3 separate regions of the Homo sapiens genome follow, and regions 1 and 2 are each linked to region 3. The links are contacts of gene promoters, found by promoter capture Hi-C in human tissues and cell types (Jung and others, 2019). All regions are on one chromosome and are shown on one strand. Each heading gives the region's core, a stretch centred on a gene start or on the middle of the fragment in contact. The rest is flanking DNA. Distances are from core to core; before and after follow the strand shown.

Region 1 (4,828 bases), core at 694-3,193, 290 kb after region 3:
ATTAAGAGAAAAAAATACTAGCTTAACCTGTGCCTATTGCAGAAACAAAACCACCAAACTGTTTTTGCAATAACTTGCTTAATATCTGGAACCTAATCACACCCCCTTTCTCTTTTATGGGGAATTGCTGGTTGGATTGCATTGTTCTGCAGCGCTTAGGTATTTGACCCATTTCAAACAGGTTTGGGAGTGTAAGGTTGTCAATCATGTGTGTCAGCTTGTGGTATTTAAGCCATAATATTTTAAGACTTTCCCCCAAAAAAGTCCTCCTTCCCACCAAAAGAAAAGCTTGAGGAGGGGAGGAAGCAAGGTGACATCATATGCTTAATACAGACTAATATAGAATAATATTGGCCTATGCAGCTAATCCTCTCAAAGGCTTTTTTGGAGGTGATGGAATTAATGTAGTTCCAAGCAAAAGTAAAAAAAAAAAAAATGACGTATATTAAGTGTTTATATTTCCTGCATAAACCAACTCTTTTCTCCTTTAATAGGAAGTAGAATGCATAATTTTATAATCAGTCATAATGTCAGCTATTTAGCACACTAAAAACAATAGTTGAAAACAACAAAACTAATTTAACTTTTATTATTTTCCTTCTCCATCCTTTGAAAGTCCAAACAATACAATGACAAAAACGCAAACCAGTAAGCGGAAATAAGAAGCATAGGTTATCACAAATCAAATGATGCCATAGTCGTGTCACTTATTTGAGGGTGTTCTAATCTAGTTGTCGTTTAAGCTGTTATAACACTTCTACCCTTTATACTTAAACTGATACATTGTAATCTTCCTGCCACCATTTCAGATAGTGCGTTAGTGACTTCTCAACGCTGAAGCTTTTACTCCAGGTTCAGATGTTTACCTGAAAGTGACTAGCGATTTTTATGCCAGGGGCATCAGATGACTTGTTTTTTCCCTATATATTTTGATTTACAAAATAATATGAATGATTCACTGTAAAATAGTTGGTAGGCATTTCATAAAGTGGGTAAACACTCTTTTTACTTCTTGAGGTATAACATATACAATAAAGTCCACAATCTTAAATGCACACCTAGATGAAATTTTATATCTGTATACACCCATGTTACCACCACCCAGATTAAGATATAAAGCATTTTCCGTGTCCCAGAAGTTTCCCTTTTTACCCTCTCCCAGTCAGTAGCTCCCCCAGGTAAGCACAAAGTGGGTAAACACTATCCAAAAAAGGAGATATATTTAAGCTCAAAATTCTGAAGGTATGCTTATATAGCATAGAATACACGGAGTATCTAGATTGGGTCTTCAGACTTTGAGCTAATATTCCAAGCTAGTGAGGAAGAATTTAAAATCTGAAAGTCTTCCTGTTAAATGTTTGTGTAATATGCTTTTTTAAAAACGATAAAACTCTATTAACCTGAAAAATACAATTTGGAAAGAAGCTGGGATAAAGCTTTTTTCCTTTGTAATGCCTGCTAAAAAGAGTGTGAGTTGTTTGTCTATCCTTTCTTTTTATAATGAAATTAACAATTTTAGGACACAGTTGTACTTAAGAGAACAAATTGTCAATTTTTTGAAAGCCTGTTTGAAAGGAGATATCTTAACCAGAAATCATTTCTCTTTTCATTAGAGAAAATCTCCAGGAACCTGTATTTAAGAGAGTATTTTAGTTCAAATTTTTATGTCAGTTCCAGATAACTGCAAGTATACTTCCCATTGATCATTCTGAATTAATGAAGTTTTTCCTAGTGAGTTCTTCATATTATAGCAAAGTGGTAGGGAAAGCCTATGTGGTGATAAATATAAGACTTAACTGATGTTTAATTTTTTTAACCAAAAGCCCCTATAACTTTTTTGAATAGTCGTGTGTCTTGATTACCAACTCACTCTGTCTTTGCTGTATGCCGTATTAAATACCAATTCCATATTACTTTTCACTTGTTTAAAGCATTTGTTTTTTTCTGATTCTCACTAAGAGTAGCTTTAAGGACTTAGTTATAAAGAATCGTGGATCAGTATAAAAAGTAAAACAAACTCTACTACTTTGAATACATTTTGGTGGATATTCTAAAACTCATGTTTTTGAAAAGTTAAGAAATGCCTCAACCCCTTTTTTCTTTTTTTTTTTTTCTTGGTGTCTACACTTGAATGGAATTGAGATGAGGGAAAGTAGCCCTTTCTTAAACAGTTAAGCTTCTCAGTGTCTCATACTTAACCTCCTGGAAGCCTATAGTTGAGAGAGAGGGGGAAAAAAAAAAGAAAAGCCACCTTGTACACTAATCTAAAAACACATTTTGAACTTCTGGCAGGATCAGTAGGACAAGAGCTTTTCCAGAGAAGGGTTCACACTCCTGGAGTTTTACCGGAGAAGACTTCAATATTTGAAACAGACTATCTGATAAAACTGATTCTATCTACCATTAGAACATATTGAAGGACTTAAAAGGAGAATTGACAGCATCACACAATATATCCATGTAAGAAACCTGCACATGAACCTCCTGAATCTAAATTTTTTTTTTTAATGAGAGTTGATGGTATACCATCTTGGAGTGTTGTGATGCATGCCAAAATCAATGAGTTCATCTTCAACATATTGAAGTTCTTACTTTCAGTTTGGTCTTAGGAGTGCCAGTTGCTTAATCAGGATAAAGTACAGTGACTTAATTACAATGCCAAAACAGATAGGAAAATTAAATTCAAAATCTTAACTCTTACATTTATGGATGCTATTATTGTCCCTACCAGTAGATATATTCTTATATTGGTAATACTTCAAATAACATGCAAGTCAACTTACAGGTTCATTTGATTTTGTTCTGTTCTTTGATTTCCCACAAAAGTTGAAATCACATTTCTACCACCTAAAATAGAAATTCCTTGAGGATAAGAAGGAATATTTTACATATTTTTATCTCCAGCAACTAGAACAATGATGATTATATTATTGAATGACACTTTATAAAAAGGTCAAAATTTAGAAAATAGTTATCTAAAATATGGGGGTTAACTTTATTTTGATGAACATTTGAGGTAAATTATGTATTGTCTGGAATCTATTTTCTGCCTAAAAGATTTCATACAATATAGAGTTTTGTTTAATGAAACTTTTTATATCATGGCAAATGGCCCATACTAATTAAGGCTTTGCTAATTTAGTTTCAACAAATTCTACAAAATAGAAAAGTCTGTAAGATGAGTCTCATATCCTGAGTCAGTTACTGTTTACCAGAAATACTGGTTTAGTTCAATGTTTGACTTTTATCCATAACTGACTATAAACTGTTTTTGTCTGAATCTACTAAATTTTTTCACTATCTTGATCTTATTTCTCCTGAAATCATCTGTGAAGCCGAAGTTTCAGATACATACCTGTAACAAAAGACATGATTATAATGCCTTATATTTTATGAAATTGGTATTTTCAAAGCACTTTGTAACATTTGTCTTCACAACCCCCATGAAATAGAAAGAGATGTGATTTGTCCAAAATTAAATGGCTAATATGTATCAGTTGTGATACTATTGTATAGCTCAGGTGCTATGAAGTCTTATCAAGTAATTTGTTTCTATACCATGAACTTTCCTGGATACATCACTTCTTTAATAGTGCTTTTCTAACTTGCTTTCCCGTTTTTCACATGGTTTCAAACCTTTTCCACTGTCTAGCAAACTCTTTCTTCACCTTTCATCCACTGCATATGACTCTTGGTTTAAAGAAGTAGAAGCCAGGTCATCTGGCCTACCAGAGATTCAGAGAAATGCTGCAGAGAGTAGTCAGTCTTTTTCAGTGCATAATTGGGCTGGCAAGAAAAGGCCAGAAACTACCAAAAAAAAAAAAAAATGCAGAATGATAAAATATCACACAAATGTGTGTCTTGGGGGTAGGGCAGGAGTGGTTTTCAGCTGCCTCCTGTTAGCCTACTGCCCAGATTTTAATTTTGTGTGTTGAAGGTGTAGGGAGGTGTCGTTGCAGGCTGTGCCTTGCAGTGAGGTCTTATAAAAGACTTCATCCCCTCCAGCATAATGCCAGAATCCTTTAAGTGTACACCTTCAGTGGATCAGCTAGGAAAATAAGCAGGTCCTCAGAGCTAGATAGGGGGTACAAATTGGTAAATAAGTCTTCCCTGGGAATGCAAAATAAGCTCATTCTTGCACAAGTTTGAAGCCTAAATTCACATCAGTTCTGTGATTGAGAGGAGCAGACTGGGGGGTTTCAGGAGATCTAACTTGAAAACATAAAGTTATCCTTGCTTGATACTAACCTCAAGGAGCTGTAAGAAGCAGATGCAAAGCATCTGTGGAAGAATGTACTTTAAACCCAGACTTCTGACAGATAAAATTCCAAAAAACATGGGTTCAGAATAAAAAATCACACTGGGGAATTGCAGATGTCAGAATTATTAAATACATAGTACACAATAATTAATCATTTATGAATTAAACACTGTTGAAATACAAAAAATTGGCACATTTGGAAATCATTTTTTAATGAAAAAATTAAAAACTGAAATGGATGGTTAAACAGATTAAACACAGTTAAAAAGAAATAAGTGAACTAGAAGATCTTAGGAAAAAAAATCACTCGGGATATAGCCCAGAGAAATAAAAGATGGAAGATACAACCAATGGGTGAAGAGAGAATGAGGATATAATGAGCAGGTCCAACATATGTGTAATTGGAATTATAGAGAAATTATTCAAAGGGAAAATAAGAGTTTACGCAAATTTATTAAAGACATCCAAGTTTCAGATCCAGAAAGCCCAACAAATCCAAGGTGGGCTTTGTGAAAACATATTTAAAGTACACTTGAAAACACTGACCTGGTGCAGTGGCTCACGCCT
Region 2 (5,113 bases), core at 1,831-4,330, 450 kb before region 3:
ACAGGGCGTGACAAGGGGAGTGGCTCCCTTCTTCCGCGCCCTGCAGCCTAAACCCCTAGGGAGAGCATGCAGTCGGGCAGGTAGTAGGGAGCGTGGGCTCCAACCCCACCGCAGCGTCTAGGGTTGAGTGTTTACAGTTTTCGAAGCCCCGGTGAGCGTGTGTTGCAGCGTGCTTTTTCAGCTTAGCCATCCGCAGGCGGCTTGTATTAATCAGCTCAATTAGACCCTCTGCCTTATCGCAAGGACAGAGGGCTTTTTGTATCCTGGGGTTCTTGCCTAGTGTACTGGAAAAATCTGATCATACATGGGCTTGGAGAATGAGTGCAAGGTTTTATTGAGTGGTGGAAGTAGCTCTTAGCAGATGGATGGGAAGCCGGAAGAGGGATGGAGTGGGAAGGGGTCTTCCCCTGGAGTCAGGCCGCTCAGTGGCTGGGCTTGCTTCTGACTGCCCTCTGCCAAATTTCCCTCAGCGTCTGCGTGGTTCCACCGTCGATGGCCTGCTAGTGTTTTTCTGCGAGTGTGTTCCTCTCGACGCCCAGCTGCTTGTACATGTGCCCACTAGGGTCTCTCGGGTTTCTATGGGCATGGGATGGCGGGGGGTTGTGGCGGGCCAGGGTGGTCTTGGAAAATGCAACTTTTGGGCGTGAAAACAGGAATGCCTGTCCTCACTTAGGTCCGTGGGCACAGGCCTGAGGGTGGAGCCCTGGCCAGGGACCCCATCCTTCTCTACCCAGCACCTCCCTGCCCCCTCCCGTATCAATAGCAATGATGAAGGACTCACGCAGCCATCTTTTCAGGAGCATGTGACAGCCTGCATGACCGGAGCCAATGGTGAATGTTTAAATTCTGGGTCCCGAAGCAATATCTTGGGAAGGGCCTTCCTCTGTCCCACAGCTTCTAAAAATGTTCTGTGCTTATAGTATTGGCTCAGTTTTGTGGATGTGTTTCTGGGATTATTCAGTGACCTCAGACAGGCTGCTCCAAGTCTCCCTGGACCACCTGCGTAGTTCAGCCATATTCTACAGTGAGCACTTAGGTAAGAAAAAGAGGACAATTTATTGGATATAACTGGGGAGGGAGGACAGAAGAAGAGATAGAAATGGTACTTAGCCATTTCTAAGACAATGGGTTAAGCCACTTGCTGAGCCCCCCCTCCCCCTCCCCCCGGCCACGGCCTTATCCATTAAACACATAGTTTTGAGTCCTTTTTACAGCTAAATAAAACCGCCACATCTCATTGGGACAAAGTTATTCAGAGACACAGAAACAATGGCTCCTGCCAACCACAGACCATGCACAGCATGCACAGGGGTCTTTACCTTTATAGTCCCAGAAGGGACTGGGAGAGGGTTGGAGGGCATGGAGGATATCAGCCTATGAAATACCAACTGCAGCAGCCCCAGCTCCTATTATGAAACAATCCACTGTTCTCTCTTCCTCAAGTCTTATCGGAAGCAAGAATATTATTTTTCATTGGCTCATTTACCCTAAGGTCCCATGAGAGGGAAGATAATCTGTGATTATTGGCTTGATCTCTGTACCCTACTTAGGGACACAAGTTTAATAAATCAGAGCATTTTTCTAGTTGGGTCAGATTGGCCAGGGTAAAATGAACATTTGCTTCAGGACACATTTTAGGCTAAACCATTCTCTGTATCTTCGTTTTCTGTAAATATACTTTCAGGGGTGAGTAACAAAAACTTCAACTTGAACTGGATTAAAAAATAAAGAATTTGGCAGGGTGTGGTGGCTCATGCTTGTAATCCCAGCACTTTGGGAGGCCGAGGTGGGAGGACTGCTTGAGCCTAGGAGTTCGGGACCAGCCTGGGCAACATAGGGAGACCACCATCCCTGCAAAAAATTGAAAAATTATCTGTGTGTGGTGGTGCACATCTGTGATCCCAGCTACTTGGGAGGCTGAGGTGGGAGTTTCGGCTGAGCCCAAGAGGTTGACGCTGCAGTAAGCCGTGATCATACTACTGCACTCCAGGCAGAGTAAGACCCTGTCTCAAAAAGAAGTAAATAAAAATAAATTTACATTGTTGCAGAACAGGACATGCAGGGGCTACACAGGCATCAAGGCTGGCTGATTCCACAGAGCAAGAATGTCAACAAGGATCCAGCTTATTTTTGCCTCTTCACCCCACCATCTTTTATGTCAGCCTCGTCCTCAGGGAAGTAGGATGCAACAGTTCCAGCTGGACACGACAATACTCACAGGAAGACGAAAGAGACTCTTATTGCTGCTGTATCGTGGGAACCTTGTCCCCGATGCCCATCAGGTTTCACCCTCCCTCCATGCTTCATTGGTTCCTTAATTGGATACTGGCAAGGAAAATGAAATTAAATTACCCTTGGCCATCAATGCCACCCCCAAGCTAGAGATGGGGTCAGTGTCACCTGAGGCACCTAGCTGAGTGAAGAAGGCATGGAGTGCTGAACAAATTGGGGTTCTTCTAGTGTGGAAGTCAGGGGAGTGGATGCTGGCTGGGTAGCTTACATTTAGTTGCAGGAAACAGAAAACCTGACTTACAAGTGGCTTAAGCCAAAAAATTATTTCTCTCTCATAATATAAATTATTGCCCTAGCTCGCTGCTGGCACAGATTCAGTGGCTTGATGATGTCATGGTCAGCAACGTGGTGAGGCTCTTGACCTTTCCCTCATGCTTGTGACCTTGTGGTTCCAAGGTGGGCTTCAAGTTCATACATCATGTCTGGATTCAAAGCAGGAAAAAGGGGAAAAGGGGTATGGGCTGTATACAACGCTACGTAAAATGTGCTGGAATCTGAGGGGCATATGCAAAAGTAGATTTAATTTCTCTTCCTTACAAGGGTCAACTATTTACATGGGAAGGAAAAACATACCCCGCAACTACAACCTGATGTCAGTACCAAGAGCAGTATGCAAACGACTATTACGGGCGCTCAGAAGCATCACAATGGAAGGGAAGTTGCAGCTGCCTATACCCACACCCACATCTTGTCTACCTGCCTGCTGCGTCACAGCCTGGCTGCATTACTGGGCTCACTTCAGTTCCAAGAAAGCTTCCAGAAATCATGGCAGGCACACCTGCAGTGAGCAGATCTGTGTCTACTTGTCCTTTAAGTGGACACCACTTTTCTGTTCAGAGCACAGATCAATGTGTCAGACAGAGCTCTTGGATGACAATATTGTCCTGGCAGGGATCCAGAGCGGCTGGGGATAGAGAATATTAAATGGGTCTGGTGCAGAACAGTTGAGGTGTGACTGGATGTGACAGAGGACAGCACCTCTTTGACAATGACATTATGTGAGTTTGGGTGGGCTCTCAGCTCAGGTTTCAGATGGCCAGGCATCTGTTGCTGGCCGCCATTCTGTTGACATTTTACATTTTGTGACCATAAATTAACTTTGGAAGAAGTTGATAGACAAGTAGGTCATTATTTGGGTGTTCCTGTGTTTCTCATAACATTTTAAATTCAGTCAGGGCAGAAAATATATATGTCTTTCCTTTATACCATTACCCTAATCCCTGGCACATGGTGGGTTTCCTCTTGACTTTAGTGGAACGTGCCTGGACCTTAACAATCCCAACACCCCACCTTCCCCGCAACCCTGTCTTCTTCCCCATCTCTCCAGCTGGCTTCCTGCCTTGTTTTCTCCTCACATAGATTTAACAGATGCTCTGAGCCCCGCAGTGCACTTCAGTTCTATTCTCTGCACTCGCCATGGCACTTGGCACCATTAACTGCAGCTCTCTCTGCCTTGACATCTGCACCCCACTCTCCCCTGTGTGTTTTTTCTTTGGGGGTTTCTTATCAGGCGCCTCTTCTTTAAATGCTTGTTTTCCTTTGAGCCCTGTCCAAAGCTCTAGGTTCCATTTTCCACTTTCTACGTTCTATCTGGTCCTTCATTCAAATTTACAGCTCACATCTCTGCTTTTGCCTCTAGCCCAGATCTCTCTCTCTCTCTCTCTCTCTCTCTCTCTCTCTGTCTTTCAAACCTTACACAACTTGAGACATCTTCACTCACATATCCTGCAGGTACACCGAACTCAACATGGTCAATACAGGAGACAGTCTCTCACCCCAAAATGGAATTTCTCTCTTTTTAAAGGAAACCAGCATTCATAAGCCAGAAGCCAGTGAGTCATCCCAGAATCCCCCATGTATAGATTGCATGTGTCAGTCATACTGCAATTATTATTATCATTAGTTATTATTATTAGTTTGAGACAGGGTCTTGCTCTGTTGGCCAGGCTGGAATGCAGTGACACAATCATTGCAGCCACCAACTTCTAGCCTCAAGCAATCCTCCTGCCTTAGCTTCCCAAAGTGCCGGGGTTACAGGCAGGAGCCACTGTGCCTGGTCTACGCTTATTTTGAATCCTGCTTTTCTGCTAAGAATATCCTAATTTTTTTATATTGTTAAATATTTATTGTATTATTATGAAAAATGTTTTTGTTCCTTCTTAAACAACAGATGGCTATGGATGGGAGATAATTTGATAAATACAGAAAGCATAAAGAGTAAATAACAATTATAATCCCACTCCTCAGAAGTACCGTTATTAATATTTTACAAGTTTATTATACTCTCTAAAATGCATTTTCCATAACTGAACTACATTTTATACTGCTGCAGATTCCTTCAGGCATTATGAAATTAGAAACATTTTCTTGTGCAATTTAAAATATTTCCCAAATAACTTGTAATAATTGCATAAAACTCCATTTTATGGTTATTCCATAGTTTATTCAACTACTCCTCAAACGTTGGACTTTCAGGCTGTTTCCAATTTGTTACAAGTTGTTGCAAATAACATCCTTATGTATACATGTCTGTGTTTCATAATGTAAATTTCTGGTAGTGGAATTAATCTGTCAAATTATGTGAATATTTAAAAGACATTTGATATATATTGTCAAAATAGATGGATGCCTTCCAGAAAGTTTTTATCAGTTTGTCCTCCCACCGCATAGAAGAAGGTATTTCTCACTGAACTCTCTCCCCCAACACTAGGAAGTTACTATCCGACTTACAAATCTTTAAAAAAAAAATCCCATCTGACCATTGCTTTAATTTTTGTTTTTCACTTAAAATGTGATTGAAGACTTCAGCATTTTTAAATTG
Region 3 (4,383 bases), core at 1,258-3,757:
ATCCCCTCACCCCCATGCTTGGCACAGAGTAGGAGCGCAAAAACTATTTGACGCATGAACAAATGATACTTTTCTTGGTTGTATGGTGAAATTACAAAATAGAATTTCTCGGGAACTGGGACAGAAGACTCCAAAGTTAGGCCTGAGAACAGGGTAGGGTGGACACCAGCAAAGCAATCAGGAAAGGCAACCGGAAACCCCATCGTAAAGGCCAGCTACAGTGGCTGAGAGGAAACGTGTGGTTTCCTGAATTGCACTTGTTCAAAACCTTCAACCTTAAAGCATGATGTATGTAAACCTTATCAAGGACCCACAGCTGGCCCAACAGTCACACTTTGGGGTTGTTTTCTTTAAAAGGTATTTGTAATCTTAGGGTTCCTAGGATAAATACGGAGTTGTAAGCCACTGTAGCATGAAAATAAAGCTGCAAAGAATTGAAGTAGGTATGCTTCAGAAGAACAACCCATGCAATATTTTTAGAGGAAGGATTCTTAAGCTAGTGTCCATTGGGTCTCCTCTGGGTACCATAGAAGGGCTTCAGGAAATGGTGAACAGCCTGAGATTGATGTAAAGTGTGTGTGTGTGTGTCTGCGTGTGTGTCTGTGTGTGTGTGCCTGTGTGTGTGTGTGTGTCTGTCTGTCTATGGAGGAGACCACAGCTTTCATCAAATTCTCATGTCTTTTGGTTATGGGGCCTGCTCTTCCTTTCACTTCATTAAGTCGAGTGGGGCTCTTCTAAACCCATTCTTATGTGCTAGGGGCTAGAGATGGGAATGAGAGAGAGTAGGTAGAAGACAAGGGAACTAACTCTATACAAGGCCTTCTATTGAGTCAATATAAGTGAAAGGCTTAGAGAGTGTCCAACCTGCATCAGGACCAATAAATATTAGCTCTTATTATTATTATTACACTATGCCAAAGCACTTCAAGTTTTCTCAACCTCACAACAACCCCACAAGTTCAGCATAAGTCTCATATTCCATTAGGTTGAACAACTAACCCAGGGTCACACAGCCAGTGGTGGAGTTCAGAACTATCTAATTCCAAGCTTAGATTCTTCTTTTCCACCCTGTGGCCTGAATTACTGGCCAGACTTTCAGTCTGGAGGCAGCCTCTCTGTCTACCCTTCAGGCTTTCACATCTAAATCCCAAGGGTCTTGCTCTTTCCCTGAGTCTGTCCATCAGAACTGGCATGAGGCCTAAAAATGAGCCGTTTCAAGCCCAGGCATCATCTACTCACTTACATAACAAAACCTTAGTCATCCCACTGAGATTCCACACTCAAAGCCAATTTCTCTCACAGGGCATCGAATGCTAGTTAAAGATATAAAATCACGCTTATCACAATTAACTCCCTTGCCTTTATGATGCAGCCAAGTCAAAGCCCAAACAGGAATAAATTTTTTCTAGTAGCCACAAATCAGAGGAGTGAGAAAGCTCTATGCCAAATCTACCATTTTCTGATTTCAAAATCCATGCTAAAAACTGCAGTTAAACATCAGCTACCAAAACACCCTTCTATCAAATAAGAATCATGGTGATTGCATGAATTGAGCACTTTCTATGTACTTGCTCTTTACGTGTTATTTCTATGCCTCAGAAGAGCCAAGCAGGCCAGATAGATGTTACTGCTTGAGAGGCTAAGCAAGTCCCATAAGGTCACACACACAGTGAGGAGCAGAACCTGGACTCAAACCCAGGCCTATCTGATGACAGCAACAGTGCTGCTAACCATGCCCTTCCCCCCAGCTCTCTACAGTCAATGTGATTCATGGCACCCAGGACCAACACCGGCTCTTGGCTTTCCCACAAACCACTTCCCTGAAATCTGGACAACTTCTTGGGAGGAGGAGTCATGGGAACAGGACAGATGAACTCCAAAATAGAAGATCGGGTGAGAGGTCCGGCTCTGCTACTTCTGTAGCTCTGTCACCACGGGCAGATCACTTAACTTTCCAAGGCCTCAGTTTCCTCGCCTATGCAATGGAGATGACCGTGAATGCCCCAAATTGCGCTGATCTAGTAGAGAAGAGGAGCTAAGGCTCAGGGGCTTTCCAGACGTGAGTTATCTTTACCTTTCCTTGACTAGCTAATTCAAGACAACTAGGTAGAAGCCCTTTCTCAGCCTCCCCTCTTCGCTCATCTTTCGAGTTCTTGGCCACCCCAGTTCAAACACCAGCACCATTGCCCTCCTCTCAGGTGGCTGCTGCTTAATTTCCCCTCCACTTTAGTAGTTCTTCTCTTGCCTCGCTAGAAGGACTGGTGTTGGGTGCTTGGAATTCTGGCTATTTTCCTCCTGCCGTTCCGACTCGGCACCAGAGTCTGTCTCTACTGAGAACGCAGCGCGTCAGGGCCGAGCTCTTCACTGGCCTGCTCCGCGCTCTTCAATGCCAGCGCCAGGCGCTCACCCTGCAGAGCGTCCCGCCTCTCAAAGAGGGGTGTGACCCGCGAGTTTAGATAGGAGGTTCCTGCCGTGGGGAACACCCCGCCGCCCTCGGAGCTTTTTCTGTGGCGCAGCTTCTCCGCCCGAGCCGCGCGCGGAGCTGCCGGGGGCTCCTTAGCACCCGGGCGCCGGGGCCCTCGCCCTTCCGCAGCCTTCACTCCAGCCCTCTGCTCCCGCACGCCATGAAGTCGCCGTTCTACCGCTGCCAGAACACCACCTCTGTGGAAAAAGGCAACTCGGCGGTGATGGGCGGGGTGCTCTTCAGCACCGGCCTCCTGGGCAACCTGCTGGCCCTGGGGCTGCTGGCGCGCTCGGGGCTGGGGTGGTGCTCGCGGCGTCCACTGCGCCCGCTGCCCTCGGTCTTCTACATGCTGGTGTGTGGCCTGACGGTCACCGACTTGCTGGGCAAGTGCCTCCTAAGCCCGGTGGTGCTGGCTGCCTACGCTCAGAACCGGAGTCTGCGGGTGCTTGCGCCCGCATTGGACAACTCGTTGTGCCAAGCCTTCGCCTTCTTCATGTCCTTCTTTGGGCTCTCCTCGACACTGCAACTCCTGGCCATGGCACTGGAGTGCTGGCTCTCCCTAGGGCACCCTTTCTTCTACCGACGGCACATCACCCTGCGCCTGGGCGCACTGGTGGCCCCGGTGGTGAGCGCCTTCTCCCTGGCTTTCTGCGCGCTACCTTTCATGGGCTTCGGGAAGTTCGTGCAGTACTGCCCCGGCACCTGGTGCTTTATCCAGATGGTCCACGAGGAGGGCTCGCTGTCGGTGCTGGGGTACTCTGTGCTCTACTCCAGCCTCATGGCGCTGCTGGTCCTCGCCACCGTGCTGTGCAACCTCGGCGCCATGCGCAACCTCTATGCGATGCACCGGCGGCTGCAGCGGCACCCGCGCTCCTGCACCAGGGACTGTGCCGAGCCGCGCGCGGACGGGAGGGAAGCGTCCCCTCAGCCCCTGGAGGAGCTGGATCACCTCCTGCTGCTGGCGCTGATGACCGTGCTCTTCACTATGTGTTCTCTGCCCGTAATTGTGAGTCCCCGGGCCCCGAGGCAGCAGGGCACTGAGACTGTCCGGCCGCGGATGCGGGGCGGGAAGGGTGGAGCGGATCGGGATGGACGCGGCGCCAGGCGAGCTGCGCCCTGGGCCAGGAAGGTTTGCTGCTGAGTTCCCCAAATTGGATTCCTTCCACAGCCCCGAGATATAACTCAGTTTGCGGAGCGAAATGAGGGAAAGTTAGAGAAAGGAAGGGAAAGGCTGAGCCCGGCGGTGTCTCCCTAGCCCAGCAAAACCCTCTCCATGTGGCAGAACTCCCTCCTCTCTGCTTCCTTCTGGGGAGATCTCGAGGTCATTTTTGCGCCTTAGGAGGAGCAGAACTTAGTTTCTCCTTGGCAACAGGAGTCTTCTACTTCCCGACGGCTGGGTGATGTTTTATTTTGTTAGACCTGCTCATGACTTCAGTGGTATCAGAAATGGGCGAATGGCGTCTGGGACGATCTTCTCCCCGGTGTTGGCATAGAAAGGGAAAAAGAGGTTTAAGCCAGCCAGAGTGATTTGCAGATGCATAGTTTTAATTTTGAAAAACGCGTGCGTAAACTTTGAGACGCCACGGCTGCTGTTTCTGGTGCTGCATCCGCCAGGGATTGTGGCGATGGAGGCCGAGGCTCTTTGTATGTTTTAGCTGCTGGTGTCGTTTTGACAACCTGACTTGACGGGTTTTGAGTGTATCTTGGCAAGTGAGGTGACATGAAAGCCATTATCTCCGGTTTCAATTTGGTAATGAGGATAGCGATGGAAATGAAATTATCTCCTCATTTTGAAGGCATTTGTTCCTGGAGTCCCCGCCAAGACACCTGGGAGTAGGTGAGGCTTGAGGAAACATTTTCAGTGCTGCTCCTCTCCTTTCTCCCAAGGTACCTGTTCAACAAAAACAATACTTACAGAA

Evidence for each region. Contacts are between HindIII fragments. The study calls those that stand out against the background at their distance.
Region 1: a contact is called between a fragment that was not itself captured here and the fragment with the promoter of PTGDR in region 3, in 1 of the 25 tissues and cell types used here (mesenchymal stem cells).
Region 2: a contact is called between a fragment that was not itself captured here and the fragment with the promoter of PTGDR in region 3, in 1 of the 25 tissues and cell types used here (mesenchymal stem cells).

Annotation. Positions count from the first base shown.
Region 1 is chr14:52,554,292-52,559,119 of GRCh38, forward strand. All of the region lies in intron 1 of GPR137C (G protein-coupled receptor 137C), which reads left to right. Among named protein-coding and RNA genes, the nearest start is that of GPR137C, 3.9 kb to the left of the region's middle. The HindIII fragment of the contact is 3,807 bases long and covers 41-3,847 here.
Region 2 is chr14:51,816,001-51,821,113 of GRCh38, forward strand. LOC101927598 (a long non-coding RNA gene) reads left to right here. Exons shown (of 8, transcript XR_002957605.2): 4 at 1-1,036; 5 at 2,049-2,282; 6 at 2,833-4,124. Among named protein-coding and RNA genes, the nearest start is that of GNG2, 42 kb to the right of the region's middle. RefSeq lists an enhancer at 3-504. The HindIII fragment of the contact is 6,488 bases long and covers 1-5,113 here.
Region 3 is chr14:52,265,191-52,269,573 of GRCh38, forward strand. PTGDR (prostaglandin D2 receptor) reads left to right here and starts at 2,508. Exons shown (of 2, transcript NM_000953.3): 1 at 2,508-3,470. The coding sequence starts at 2,625. The HindIII fragment of the contact is 10,952 bases long and covers 1-4,383 here.